Linked DNA regions of Homo sapiens: all the other regions are linked to region 2. Evidence: promoter capture Hi-C in human tissues and cell types (Jung and others, 2019). All regions are on one chromosome and are shown on one strand. The core of a region is centred on a gene start or on the middle of the fragment in contact, and the rest is flanking DNA. Distances in the headings are between cores, read along the strand shown. Region 1 overlaps CNDP1 (carnosine dipeptidase 1). Region 2 holds the start of CNDP1 (carnosine dipeptidase 1). Region 3 overlaps ZNF407-AS1 (ZNF407 antisense RNA 1).

What was found. Contacts are between HindIII fragments. The study calls those that stand out against the background at their distance.
Region 1: a fragment that was not itself captured here is called in contact with the fragment with the promoter of CNDP1 in region 2 in 1 of the 25 tissues and cell types used here (spleen).
Region 3: a fragment that was not itself captured here is called in contact with the fragment with the promoter of CNDP1 in region 2 in 1 of the 25 tissues and cell types used here (aorta).

What each region holds. Positions count from the first base shown.
Region 1 is chr18:74,567,574-74,570,453 of GRCh38, forward strand. The region is part of intron 6 of CNDP1 (carnosine dipeptidase 1); the gene reads left to right. Among named protein-coding and RNA genes, the nearest start is that of ZNF407-AS1, 29 kb to the right of the region's middle. The HindIII fragment of the contact is 3,145 bases long and covers 41-2,880 here.
Region 2 is chr18:74,533,083-74,535,782 of GRCh38, forward strand. It overlaps CNDP1 (carnosine dipeptidase 1), which reads left to right and starts at 1,418. Exons shown (of 12, transcript NM_032649.6): 1 at 1,418-1,609. The coding sequence starts at 1,586. The HindIII fragment of the contact is 24,351 bases long and covers 1-2,700 here.
Region 3 is chr18:74,590,294-74,593,246 of GRCh38, forward strand. ZNF407-AS1 (ZNF407 antisense RNA 1) reads right to left here. Exons shown (of 2, transcript NR_024484.1): 2 at 1,481-2,953. Among named protein-coding and RNA genes, the nearest start is that of ZNF407-AS1, 6.1 kb to the right of the region's middle. The HindIII fragment of the contact is 5,535 bases long and covers 1-2,953 here.

The DNA of each region.
Region 1 (2,880 bases), core at 363-2,862, 35 kb after region 2:
AGGTGGGGTGGGTGCAGAGGTCTTGGGGTTTGGGGAGGTCATGAACCCCCAACACTTGGAGTGGATGTGGCTATGTACCTTGTTCTGGAGAGGGGATTCACAGGGGTTTGTGACTTACAAAGCAAAGCTTGGAAACTCTGGCCATGGGATTTGCAGGCAGGTATGGCAGCCACAGGGAGGTAAGCAGACTGCGCGATCAATGCAGGGGCAACTGTGCTGTGTCCTGCTCCCAGCGTGGGCCTGCTGGCCACAGTGGCAGGAGACCCCAGTGCCGTGGTCACAGGGAAAGAGAAGGAACATTGGTGTCGCCCGAGGCCAGCATCTGAATCCTAGCTTCTACCATGCCCAGCCTTGTGCAGGTGGTTTCACCTTGAGCCTTGGTTTCCCACCTTGAAAGATGGTACAATAACGCCCCCTCCCAGGATGACTGTGTCATTACATGCAGCCTTTAGTTGAGGTTTGACGCATAATCAGTTTCCTTCCCCTTTTCTCTTTTTCTAGTAATACAGGCAATCTGTGATAGTGCATAAGACATAGAAAGTCCCTCCCGGGTAAATAGCTAATTATTTCATCATTTCAATCTGTTTTCTCATATAACAACGTGTAGGCTGATAATCCATGCTGTATCCAATCCCTAGGCAGTTTTGAGATTCAGATGTCAGCACATACACGGAAACACACATGGCTATGCGTGTGAAAAACAGTGAGTGCCTTCTATTTGTCAGATAGGAGGATGCTAAGTCCCAGGGGTATAGGACTGAATAAAATAGTCTCTGCCCTCAGGAAGTTTACTTCTAGTGAGACACAGATACTAAAGAGATGTGGGAGTGACAGAGAAAATAGGAAGCAGGGACTGTCCTCTAGAACCCGCTTTCAAGAAACATGGCTGTGAAAAGTGGGAGACAGCTGGGATGATGGCTAGAGGAAGCCCTTGGGAGGCAATAGACAGAGGGAGCAGTTGGAGACCTGGGAGGGAGGGGGAGAATTTTTGAGAACGAAGGCACTGAGGAGGTGGGAGGGGGCGAGCTCCAGACCCAGGGGAAGAAAATAACCTCTTCTGTGAGGGCTTTGGGTAGGTAGAGAGCTCCAAGTCCTAGAGCTTTTTCCCTCTTAGCGTCCATTTTTTTCTGTTTAGTAGGAAGTGAGTGTATCTGCAGAGAAGTGATGGCTTGAAGTGGTCACTTTGGGACAGGGGGAAGAGAAGGGATGGGAGGATGAAGAAGGGCCAGGCAGTGGTAAGGTCTGGAGTCATCTGTCCATGCAAATTGCTGGCTTTCTGCAGCATGCTCAGTGGCCAGGGACAGAGAAGGCTGGCCCAGGGGTTGAGGTTACCCCAGAGGGTTGTGGTGGAGAAAGTAGGGAAGAGCTCATCAAGGTGTTGAGCACAGAGGGGCTGAGGTGATCAACGGTGGTATTCAGGTTGAACAGGGGAAAAAACAAAGGCAGGAGGGCAATGTGGGACATCTTGGAAGGGTCAAGGGACTGACGTCTTAATGAAGACCGAGAACAGGTGGTACAGCAACGTTACAAGAGAGGACAAGGGGAGCTGTCATCAGAATGTGAGACAGCCAGCTCAAGCTTTCGAAGTGAGACCGTCCACACTCCAGAGTAATTTAGCTAGCATTATTGCCTAGTGAACGGAAAGTCTTAATGCTAAAGTGACCATACCGAAGATTGCTCTGGTGCCACATTGAAGATGAAGAGGAACAGAGAAAGACCAGCTGGGCAGGAAGGATGGGAGGGAATGAACTGAAGAATCAACTTCAAAAAAGCCCAACCTGTAGAAATTGGTAATTGATTGGATATGGCGTATATAGGAGAAATCATGCTGGTAGGAAGTAATTGCAGAAGAGATTGAGTTTGGGTCTAGATCTCCTGAGTTTTGGAAACTGGAAGCATGCTCAAGTGGAAGGCACCGTAAGCATTCCAGAGTTTTAGGTCTGGTGTTTAAGTAGAAGGTCAGACCTCCAGGGATGAACATTGAAGGGCATGGTTGTATTAATAGCATCTCTGCCCTTAAATTAGCGTGAGCACCGCATGGTCAGAGATAACCAGGTCCACACATGTTTGTGTCATTCCACAATGTCAGGCTTTTACTGATGCTATCTCAATAATAAAAGCCATGGGCTCCATGGAGTTCCCAAGGAGGCAATTCTCCTTAGTGCCTCCCATTCATTCAGAAGTCAGAGCGCAGGCACACAGGCTCAAGCTACTCCACAAGGCAGTCAGTATTGTAAAGCATACATTGTGGTATACCTAGCCAATATGTGAATGTTATAGACTGAACATTCCACAACAAACAAAGTAACATTTACCATCAAGAGAGAAGGAGCTGGGCACAGTGGCTCATGCCTGTAATCCTAGCACTTTGCGAGGCTGAGGCGGGTGGATCACCTGAAGTCAGGAGTTCAAGACCAGCCTGCCCAACATGGTGAAACCCTGTCTTTATGAAGAAAATACAAAAAAAAAAAAAAAAAAAGCTGGGCATGGTGGCGTGCACCTGTAGTCCCAGCTACTTGGGAGGCTGAGGCAGAAGAATTGCTTGAAGCTGGGAGGCGGAGATTGCAGTGAGCTGAGATCATGTCACTGCACTCCTGCCTGGGTGACAGAGCAAGACTCTGTCTCAAAATAATAATAATAATAATTAATAATAATAATAATAAATAATTAAAAAAAAAGAAAAGAAAAGTGATAGGAAAACAGGTTAATGAACCAGTCCAGGGAGAGTGACGTAGACAAAAAGAAATCCTGGCTTGGCCCGGGTGGTCCAGTGGTCTTGTAAGGAAGAGACTTTGATCTGGGCAGAGCCTTTGGTGGCAGATGCTGGGCGCTTAGCACAAGTGACAGCAGGACAGTGTCTGTTAAGTTTTGAGCTGCTGA
Region 2 (2,700 bases), core at 168-2,667:
GGCTCTGGCCTGTGCCCTGCTGCCTCCTTTTCTCTACTGTCCCCTGACCTTCCCACCAAAATTTATATGTTGACATCCTAACCCCCAAGACCTCAGAATGTGACCTTCTATGGAGATAGGGTCATTGCAGATTGAATTACTTATCTTTAGATAAGGTCACATGGGCATAGGATGGACCCCTGATTACACACAACTGTGTCCTTATGAGAAGGGACAATCTGGACACACACACATACACAGGGAGAACATCATAAGAAGATGAGGGCAGAGATCGGGTGATGCTTGTACAAGACAAGGGACACCAAGGACGGCCAGCAGCCACGCGGGTCAAGGCCTGGAGCACGCCCTTCCCGCTCAGCCTCAGGAGAAACCTGCCCTGCCCATACCTTCATCTCAGACTTCCAGTCTCCAGAATTGAGACCGATTTCTGTTGCTTAAGCCACCCAGTGTAGGGTACTTTTGTTAGAGCAGATGTTGGGGCTCAGAAGCCAATACCCCAAAATATGGTGCTTTGTTCAAGCTGAACTGAAAAGGAACTTCAAGGCCTCTCGGCTCCCCCACCCCCACCATCTCTCCCAGAGTTCCTGAAGTGTCCTTATCTCCTTCAAGTCTGACCCACCAAAGAAGAAAGGAATGACCTCTAGTCCCTTCCCTGAGTTTTCGTTAACTGAACCCATATCTCAGGAAGGAAGGCTGACACCGAACACGCTGGACAGACTTGTCAAGACCATTGTCTGCTCCGGGGCCCAGCAGACTTGAACGAAGACCGTGGCGTGCTCTTCAAGCCCACTGAATCCTCCCTCGTGAGCGCTGATTGCCCTCAGCTGAAGTCCTCTTTTCTCCTCCCATAACCTGTTGCGCGAGAATCTAAGCCGCCACTCCTTGTGGAACCTCAAGAGGGTGTCTCAGCTTCCCAACCCCATTAGGGATTGGTCCTTCCTTCTGAAGGCTCCCATGTCACTTAAAACTAGGAGCAAATCAATCTGTTATGCCTCTTCTCCAATTCAACTGCCCTTTGCAAGCTGATTTTGCAGCGAACCTTCAGAGAGCTGGGAAAACTCTACCCTCGGCCCCTGCACAGCCCTAGGAAGCTAATCCTCGGCCGTAACATTCCATCACAAGGGCCCACAGCCACAGTGTGTGGGGGCCTGTCATGTGAGGGGGCTGTCACCTGAGGGGGCTGTGCCGCTGGCTCAGCTCTGCCTGCTGGCCGGGGCCCTACTCCCTCTCAGAGATGACACACAAGTGCCCCCAAAGAAGAACCCGAGGAGTCGCAGGCTGGGCCAGGCTGCTGGCTTCCAGTGACATCACATGACTTTGGGGCCACTGCCTCATCCCGTATCTGCGCGTATGAGATGCATTGTCTCTTCCTCTGCAGTTGAGCTGAATGAATACCTCCGAAGCCGCTTTGTTCTCCAGATGTGAATAGCTCCACTATACCAGCCTCGTCTTCCTTCCGGGGGACAACGTGGGTCAGGGCACAGAGAGATATTTAATGTCACCCTCTTGGGGCTTTCATGGGACTCCCTCTGCCACATTTTTTGGAGGTTGGGAAAGTTGCTAGAGGCTTCAGAACTCCAGCCTAATGGATCCCAAACTCGGGAGAATGGTGAGTAGGACCTCCTCCATCAGAGTCCGTGCATTGGGTGCCAGAATTCCATTTGTCCCGGGAGCATGTGCGTTAAGCCCAGTTGGGCAGGGCAGGCACCCAGCGTGGCCCCAGATGCTGCTCCTCATGGTGTTCTTAGGTGCTGTCTTGGCCGAGGAATGTGGTATTTGGAATTATATTTTATCAGTAATGCTTTTGGGTAGTTGTGTGTTCTTAACAATAATTAAATGGCATTATTGTCAAGTAGTTCATATTCAAATTGTTCATGAACTCAGTCTTCTTAAATCAATTTTTTTCTGTACTTTTTCTCTTTAAAAAAAATGAGTTTGCTTCCTGGAAGAATTTGCCTAAATAATGGTAACAGACAGTGTGCTGTTTGTCCTGGTCCCAGGTTCCCGACTTAAGGGCTAGTTTGCAAGAGCTAATCACCGGGCTAAATCACCCCAGGCCTTTCTCGGCGAGGTTTCCATGGTTCAGGTGCAAACCTGAGTGTGGGTGTGGCGGGAAGGCTTCTCTCTAGGAAAACAAGCAGGCAGGTACCTTTGGCTGTGAGGTTTTGTGGGGTTGTGTTCCAGACTACTTGGAAAGATAAAATTCATGGACGCTTTTTATTTCCATTGCAAACACACACATACACACACAGAAATTTTCAGAATTTTGTGGAAGGTTGATACGTAGAAGACTCTCAAAAGACATACTGAAACAAATACATGCAAATGCGAGGCTGGAGACACAGTGAGCAGGCAGGTGGTGACCTGACCACAGCCGGATTCTAGAAGTGGGCTTTGCCCACCTGCAAGACCATGAGATTCCCACACCATGCTGCAAAATCACTGCTCTGAGAGAAAGAACCTCACCCTGTGGTCTGGCCATGCTTTCCATTGCTGACTTTTTTTTTTTTTTAAAGAACCCATGACTGGCCAGGGCATTGGGGTGGGGGTTAGAAGAGGACATTTCACTGAATACTGTCTTACTTTAAAAAATCTTTAAACTGTGTCATGATAGTATCTATTCAAAACATTAAAGTTAAAAGCAACATGAAAGAAAATAATTTCCCTGGCTGGGCATGGTGGCTTATGTCTGCAATCCCA
Region 3 (2,953 bases), core at 309-2,808, 57 kb after region 2:
ATGGAATTTCACTCTTGTTGCCCAGGCTGGAGTGCAATGGCGTGATCTCGGTTCACTTCAGCCTCCGCCTCCCAGGTTCAAGCAATTCTCCTGGCTCAGCCTCCCAAGTAGCTGGGATTACAGGCGCCTGCCACCACACCCAGCTAATTTTTTTGTATTTTTAGTAGAGATGGGGTTTTACCATGTTGGCCAGGCTGGTTTCGAACTCCTGACCTCAAGTGGAGGTCACCCATCTCAGCCTCCCAAAGTGCTGGAATTACAGGCTTGAGCTACCATGCCTGGCAAGTATAATTTCTTAACAGTTATGATAAGTAAACGCTTTGGAGCTATTTTAGTTTGGATAGAATTGAAAAAAATGTCATTATGTGGACAAATTTTATTTAAAAACATTATTCTAGTGTAATTCCTTAGGCAGAATGAAAAAAGATGTCAGATAAATTATGCCTTTGACTATAACAGAAAATCTGAAGCTTTAAATCATCTCACCTCCCACACTGAAATTCACCAAAACAGCATTCGAGAAGAACTTAGATTTAAAATTCTAGTGTGGGTGGTTAAGTGTTCATAGCATATTCTTATTGCCATTGTAAGTAGGCATTTGAATGGAATGACAAAAAATGTTAATTTAAAGGAAATGAAACTTTAAATGACACTTAGTCATCAAAAATGACTAGTCACCAAAAATGACCAATGCTTCCTTCAAATTTTAAATAATTATAACCAAATAAAGGAAGCCATCTATAGTTTATTTAAAATCCCACTTTCAACCCCAGAAGGCAGAGTTCAGGGATACTTTAGCAGGTGAAGTAAAGTAAGGGGAGGCGGCTCTGAAAAGGAGAGATAACAGAGAAAAAGCAACAAATTCAGCATGTCTCCTGTAACATTTTTAGCTTCAGATGGGTGAGAAATGTAGTGAAAGGGAAACTTGAAATTAGTTAGCCTAAAGCAGAACTCCTGAGGAAGAGGATCACTTGGGAATGAGAGTATATACCATAAGCTATCATTCACTGCTCTTGGCCTTGGAAGAAAAGATTCTGGTTTACATTCTTGGCTGAAGAGGCAACATAATATAGCACAGTGGTTCCCAAACTTTCCTCCACATTGTAAGTACCTGGGGACTTTAAAAAGTACTGATGCCAGGGTTCCTCTTCCCCTGCCCGATTTTCTAATTTACTTGCTATGGGGTATCACCTGGGAATTTTTTTTAAGTTCCTGAGGTGATTCTAATGTTCAGCAAACTCAGAAAGCACTGGTGTAGAGGTGAAAGTGTGTTGAATGGACTCTGGTTCAAATTTGGACTCCAGATTTTACCAGTTGGATAATCTTGGGCAAAATACGTTATTTCTCAGATCCTTGGTTTCCTTAGCTGTAAAGTAGGAATGGGAACATCTTTATTGCAGAGTCGTTGGCAGCACAATGACAATATATGCAGAACACTTAGCACAGTGCCTAGCACGCAGTAGACACTCAATACATGGTGTTACTTATTTTTGTTATTTTAATTTTCTATTTTTCCATTTATAAATAGATAAATATTCCACAAACAATTTCTTAAAGAGGAATAATTAGAAATCAACTTATGTGTGCTGCTGGGGTGTGTATAATGCAGCTACAAGTTGGGATCCTCTTTGTTCTGAAGTTGAAGTCTCTTGCTAGAAGTGTCCAGGTACAGGAAGACAGTAGCAGTGAGGACCCAGGTCACCACACGTTCTTGGTATTATTACCTCTCAAATCTCAACAGAGAATGACAGATGTCATATTGTCCTTGCACTTTTTTTTACTTCATTGATTGAATGTATTAAATTAGGTCATCACATTCATAAAGATGAAATCAATCATATTTGTTGAGATAACTAAACTATTGGCTTCATACCCTGGATCCATTTCTCCTTTTCCTTCCTAATTCTTACTTTATTCATGTTTCCATCCCTTTCCCACTCAGCCAAGTGCCACAGGTAGAGCTGACACCTTCCCAAGATCCAGGTGGTCTCTGAGGCCTACAGGCGATTCCATTCCTGTCTGCAGTGCTTAGCTCAGGGTACACATGTGAGCCACTTCTGGCCATGGGATGTGAAGGCATGCTTGCTGGGGGCTTTTGGGAAATTCCTTTTCTCTTAAGAAAAAAATCATAAGAAAAGGAGTTCTCTTTTTTATCTCTAGATGTTATCCCTGGAATCACTCTAGCCATCTTACTACAGCCTGATGTTCAATAGGGCATTGAGAATTGAAGTGCAGAGTGATGAGAAAAATCTAGGTCCTTGATACCAACATTCAACTCCTGAGTCAATAAATTCTGAAGCCTCCTTTATGTCTGGATGACAAATTTGTGAGCTGATACACTTTTTTATTGATTAAAGTAGTGGAGGTTCATTTCTATTATCTGCAGCTAAAAGCCTCCTGGTATAAGTGCTTTGTGTTATCCTTCCAATTATTCTACATTTCACCATCACTTTCAAAGCAGTAATATTATACATTTCTAATTTGCATAACTTACTAGTTTTCAATTTTTTTACCCTAGTTAACACAAAGTCCTTGAAGTGAATATCATCTTTATTTTATTTTAGTAATAAGAAACTGGGGCTCAGAAAGTTTAGGTAACACAGTAGGAAATGATGAAACTGAAACAAGCAATCATGTCTATTTGATTGCTTTTTTCCTGTAAAGACAGTCATTAATGCTCTTCACCAAATGTTTTCATTTCTTCTGACACATGCCAAGATCGCACTTCCCCATCCTTTTGAAGTTACTTGCAGCCATGATAATTGCCCTGGCCCAATGCAATGTGAACAGGTAAAAGACATATTTTACTTCTGGGCCAAAGCTTCAAGAACCAGTGCATATTTTGTTGTCTTCTCTCTCTCTAATGCAGGTAACAGAAGTCCCATGAGCCTGGGTCCCACAAAGAGACATGGAGTGTAGCATCCAGCAATGTCGTTATAAACTTGTAGTGGGA